2 separate regions of the Homo sapiens genome follow, and region 1 is linked to region 2. The links are contacts of gene promoters, found by promoter capture Hi-C in blood cells and fetal thymus (Javierre and others, 2016). All regions are on one chromosome and are shown on one strand. Each heading gives the region's core, a stretch centred on a gene start or on the middle of the fragment in contact. The rest is flanking DNA. Distances are from core to core; before and after follow the strand shown. Region 1 overlaps SLC51A (solute carrier family 51 member A). Region 2 holds the start of TFRC (transferrin receptor).

What was found. The method cuts DNA at HindIII sites, captures the fragments that hold promoters and counts their contacts. A CHiCAGO score of 5 or more calls a contact.
Region 1: a fragment that was not itself captured here is called in contact with the fragment with the promoter of TFRC in region 2 in 2 of 17 cell types (M1 macrophages and M2 macrophages); the score reaches 6.1 in M1 macrophages.

Annotation. Positions count from the first base shown.
Region 1 is chr3:196,224,722-196,227,618 of GRCh38, forward strand. It overlaps SLC51A (solute carrier family 51 member A), which reads left to right. Exons shown (of 9, transcript NM_152672.6): 3 at 2,244-2,398. Among named protein-coding and RNA genes, the nearest start is that of SLC51A, 9.6 kb to the left of the region's middle. The HindIII fragment of the contact is 5,487 bases long and covers 1-2,897 here.
Region 2 is chr3:196,080,636-196,083,412 of GRCh38, forward strand. It overlaps TFRC (transferrin receptor), which reads right to left and starts at 1,455. Exons shown (of 19, transcript NM_001128148.3): 1 at 1,408-1,455. RefSeq lists an enhancer at 1-206 and silencers at 1,088-1,387, 1,438-1,777. The HindIII fragment of the contact is 5,608 bases long and covers 270-2,777 here.

The DNA of each region.
Region 1 (2,897 bases), core at 99-2,598, 140 kb after region 2:
AGGAGAGGGGAGGAGAGGGGAGAGGGGAGGGAATGGGAGAGGGGAGGGGAGGGGAGGGGAGGAGAGGAGAGTTGTCTGCAAGTGGAGGAGAGAGGCCTCAGGAGAAATCAAACCTGCTGACACCTTGATCTTGAACTAGCCTCCAAAACTATGAGAAAATAAATTTAAGTTGTTTAATTTTTAAAAAAGTGACTACTCAGAAAAGATAGAAAAAAGTAAGTAGAAAAGAAGACACAAATCATCCATAGTCCCATCACCCAAACATAAGCATTGCTAACTTTTTTCAGTATTATAGGTATTTTCCTTTTTTTTTTTTTTTCACCCAGGCTGGAGTGCAGCGGTGTGATCCTGGCTCACTACAGCCTTCACCTCTCCCGGAGTAGCTGGGACCACAGGCAGGCGCCACCACACCCGGCTAATTTCTGTATTTTTAGTAGAGGTGGGGTTTCACTATGTTGGCCAGGCTGGTCTTGGACTCCTGGCCTCAAGTGATCCGCCCACCTCAGCTTCCCAAAGTGCTGGGACTACCAGTGTGAGCCACCGTGCCCAGCCGAGGGTCAGCGTATTTTTTGACAAATTCACCCATAGTCCTGGTTGGTCCTGTGGTGCCACCAGGTGCGACTGACCGAGACAAGAGCTCCAGCTCAAGTCTGTACCGTGGCCACCTTTCTCCCTGTTTTGGTTTCAGCAGTCATATTGCTCCCACTGAGCTGCCCTCATGTTCCTTAGTCACCAAAACACAGAGCAGACTAGCTAATCCCTTCCTCGTGCTCACCCCGCAAGGCAACAGGACAATGACTGGAGTGTGGCAGTTTTCTCCCTTTCTTCCTCTTATCTAGTCAGGTAGCAGGTGCAAAGGAGGGTCCAATAACTAGAAAAGACACTTAGATAAATGACCACAGGTTCACTAAGGACCTAGAACCCTTTCTTTAAAACTAACGGCTGCATTAATGAATCACGTTTGTTCGGAAACACATATTGTGACTATATTCATTTTTTTCTGTTAGCAACGGTGAGGCCAGATGAGGTCTACCAGTATTTGTCAAAGTGTCTGCTATCCTCCGACCACTATCAGGTGAGCTTGTTAAAAATGCAGATGACTGGGCCCATCTCAGATCTATGGACGCACATGTCTGAACGTAGGGCCTGGGCAGCTAGCTGCTTTTTAACAACTCCCAAAATGACTGCAATATCCACGAAAGTTTGAAAACCTTGGACTATAGTTCATGTAAGACCAAGCATGAGGCCAGCGTGCGTCAGGTGTCCTTGGGGTTTTTATTTGATCCGTTTCTCTTTTGTTGAAGTTCTCCCCTGGCCGAGTGTGGTGGCTCACGTCTGTAATCCCAGCACTTTGGGAGACCAGGGTGGAAGGACTGCTTAAGCCTAGGAGTTTGAGACCAGTCTGGGCAACGTAGTGAGACCCCGTCTCTACAGAAAATGTTAAAAATTAGCCGGCCGTGGTGGGGGTGCACACCTGTAGTCCCAGGCTACTTGGGAGGCTGAGGTTGGAGGATGGTTTGAACCCGGAAGGTCAAGGTTGCAGTGAGCCATGATCACACCACTGCCCTCCAGCCTGGGCGACAGAGTGAGAACCTGTCCTCCTCCCCACAAAAAAGTTCTCTGCTAATGTCCTGGTTTCACCATATAATTTTGGTGAAATCAACTTAAACAGATCCAGAATGTCCCATAAATTATATTCGGCTTCAATTATGTTAATTGATCTACATTCGCTAGTGCAGCACCTGGCACTGGAGATAGAAAAGTGAAGTGGGGTTGGGCACGGGGGCTGAGGCCTATAATCCCAGCACTTTGCAGGGCCAAGGCGAGTGGATCACTTGAGGTGAGGAGTTCGAGACCATCCTGGCCAACATGGAGAAAACTATCTCTACTAAAAATATAAAAATTAGCCGGGCATAGTGGTGGGTGTCTGTAATCCCAGCTACTTGGGAGGCTGAGGCAGGAGAATCACTTAAACCCAGGAGATGGAGGTTGCAGTGACCCAAGTTCACACCACTGCACTCCAGCCTGGGCAACAGAGTGAGGCTCCGTCTTAAAAAAAAAAAAAAAAGAAAAAGAAAAAAAAAAGACTATTTCTTAGGTTGAATACTCTAGGTCTAAAAAATCCTCATTCCTGTGCACGGGTGGGAGCCTAGATCCAGTAAGGCAATTTCGATCCGAGGAACAAGCCCAGGCCTTCTCCCGCTCAGTCCCGGTCGTCAGCTCTCTGCCTTCTCCTCCTCTAGCCCTGGGCCCTGTGGAACTTGCCCTCACTAGCATCCTGACCTTGCTGGCGCTGGGCTCCATTGCCATCTTCCTGGAGGATGCCGTCTACCTGTACAAGAACACCCTTTGCCCCATCAAGAGGCGGACTCTGCTCTGGAAGAGCTCGGCACCCACGGTGAGGCCCCCGGGGCTGCCCTGTGGGGGGAACTGAAAAGAAGGCAGAGACCAAGGTGAGAATTCCTCTAAACTCAGCACGTCACTTCGGCAAAGAGTGTCCTGCCACGACCCGCGGAGGGCCGAGGTTTGCAGGCCGACCTCCCCTTGCAGTTAGGATCCTCTGCTTGGAAGGCTGTGCAGTGTTTGCATTCTAAGGGCTGCGGAGACAGCTGGAGATCTGCTCAGCCCACCAGCCGCCTCATCCTTGCTCCCCGCTACAGTGTTGCCACTTGAAGAGCTTCCTTCAGTGGTTCCTCAGAGTGTGGGGGAAAGTCTCATTCCACAGGGTCACACTCAGCTCCACCCTTACGCTGAGGCTTTTGAAACACCCTCCCACAGGTCCTTGGTTTGCTTGACTTAATTAGTGCTTTTTCCAGCTGGCAACGTTTAAGGAACGCTGCCTCGAATGTGTAGGTTTTGCCTCCTGTGTCCTTGCCGCAAAAGGCTTCCGGAGCCTC
Region 2 (2,777 bases), core at 205-2,704:
CGCCTTAGGGCGGAGTTAGCCAAACTGCTGTCTATCTAACAATCTTCAACACAGGCTAGGTTTACAGCCACCATTACTTGATAAGAACATCCAAAGGAAATTGAAGGATGCTATGCTATATATAACCTTGCAAAATCGATGACAAAAATTATCTTAACTCTGAGTTTTCTTGAGAAGCATATTGTAACCCAAAATTCAGGGCCGGGGGGCGGGGGGAACCAGCAGGGTCCACAAGTACTCTAGACAGCCTAACCTTAATTTTCACAGTAAGCTTAGCATATAAGCATGGGGTAGCCAAATACAATTTCCTACTTTAATCCTCTTATCAACGGGGAAGAAAATGGAAAAAGCTGCAGAATCCAGTCCCCCGGGTAAGTGAGGTCTCTACAAGCAGTAAGCAGAGGGAAAGCGTTATCCGAAAAGAGCCGAATCAGAATGTATTTTCTTACCCACCCTCCCAACCTTAAAAGAACTGTCCAGCAGAATGTGACACAATCGGCCTCTCCGGCGCCCATCAATCCAGCACAGCCCTCTGACCACACCGCTAATCTCCAAGTATCTTTCACAAATAAGTCACTCCTATGGCTCCCGTCTTGTAGTGAGAACTGCTAGCAATATTCTTAATGTGAACACCTGCGGCGTTCAGTCGGATTCTGCCTTGAGAAAACAGAATCCACACACAAGGCGAACAGGCAGAGCATGGCAAGATCAGGTTGTACCAGAGCCGAAGGGTAAGTTTACAGAAACCCGTATCTAATTAATGCCTGTAACACGCTAGTAACCGAATCGGGGACAGCTTTGTCCCTTTCCGCAGTGAGAACGGGGCCCGCCCGGAGCCCGGGGAACCGAAGGTTTAGGAGCCCAAGGTCACCCACGAATCCCAGCCGTTCCCTGGGGCGACTTCCTGGAGCAGCCACGTGTTCCCCCGGCGCCGCACGCCGCGCAGCTGCACCTTGGCTGCGCCCGCGCTCCCGGACCCGCAGCCCGGAGCCGGCGCACTAGGGCCTGCGGCCTTCAAGGGCGAGGACCCGAAGTCCCCGGGGCTGAGAGCGACAGTGGGGGTACACCTGGTCTCGTCATTCGTCGCTCTGTGACCGAGGAGGCGGGCAAGAAGGCAGAGAGAAGGGAAGGGACGAGAGGCGAAGGGACGAGAGGCGCAGGGACGCCTCTGCGCACAGCCGCCGACCCCGTGTACCTGCAGCCGCTCGAGGCGCCGCCACAGCCCCTTCCCCACAGGCTCGCGGCCCCGCTCCATCCCGGCCGCCCCGCCTGGGGCCGCGACCGCTTTCCCGCTCCCCGTGCGGCTCCCTATGGCTGCTGGACAGCACCGGAGCGGCCGCTCCAGCCAGCCCCGCAGGATGAAGGGAGGACACGAGGGTCGGTGTAGTTCTAGAAGCCCGCACTCACACTAGCGCGTCCTCCGTCCCGAGCCGCCACCCGATATCCCGACGCTCTGAGGGGATGGCGGCCCCTAACCGGCGGTTTATAGCCTGGCCCCGCCCCCGGCCCCCAGGGGGGCTGTGCGTCACTTCCTGAGGCACGTACGCTCGCGAGGTGCTCTGACAGATCGCCCGGGGGGCGGGGATGCGCGCGCAGCGGGCGGGGCCCTATGCGGAGGGCGCTGCGGGCGAGGCGAAGGCCAAGGGAAAAGGCGCCAAGGCAGCAGGTGCCCCGAGGAGCCGCGCGATGGGCGCACTGGCCTCTGCCTCGGCGCCTTCCTCCACCCTGGTAGCCTGGCAGCCTCCGCCTGACCTTGACCAACCTCCAGTCCCTGCAGTGCTAGGTCCAATCTGTTGGCGTTGACGCTTAAATGTTGGATATTGCACTGCGGCAGTGCCTTGAAATGTACGTGCAGGATGGAATGTTAGGTAACTATTAAAGCCACTCTTGTGAAGATGTATTTTGCAGCCTCAGAAATACAAAAAGGAAAAGAAAAGCAAAATGCAAATTTTTATTCAGAATGTATACAAGCTGCACTTTAACCAAGACTAGCGGAGTGCTTTGCGTAATGTTTAATGCATGAGGGAATAAAAGGGAAAATAGAAACAAGTGACTTAATAGGGTGATAGGATTGTAGATTAACTTTCGTTTTCATTGCCATCGCTGTTATTGGATTGTGCAATGAATAACAAATAAATAAAATTCAATTCTTGTCACTGTTTAAACTCTTTCCAAACAATCACACCCTCTCCCTCCCTCTGGTCAGTAACCAGCAGGCCAGGGAGGTAGTAGCTACAATGCAAGAAAGCAACCCATACCTTAAAAAGCATTGCACATAAACTGACCTTCAGGCCCGTAGGGACACAGAACAGCCCTTTAAGAAGCAAATCCGTTTCTGGGCCTTGGGCTTTTACTCTTCCCTTTATTTCTTCTGCTCTAAGATAGAGAAAGTACTTGGGATTCTCACCGCCTTTCTCTTTACTCCCATTCTCTAAAATCTCTCTCCCCAAAGAGAAGTGTTTAAAAGTCATATGAGTTGCCAGGCGCGGTGGCTCACGCCTGCAATCCTAACACTTTGGGAGGCCGAGGTGAGCGGATCACGAGGTCTGGAGTTCGAGACCAGCCTGACCAATATGGTGAAACCCCATCTCTACTAAAAAAATTTCAAAAAAAATTAGCCAGGCATAGTGGCACGCGCCTGTAATCCCAGCTACTCAGGAGGCTGAGGCAGAAGAATCGCTTGAACCCAAGAGGCGGAGGTTGCAGTGAGCCAAGATCGCGCCATTGCACTCCAACCTGGGCGACAGAGCAAGATTCCATCTCAAAAAAAAAAAAAA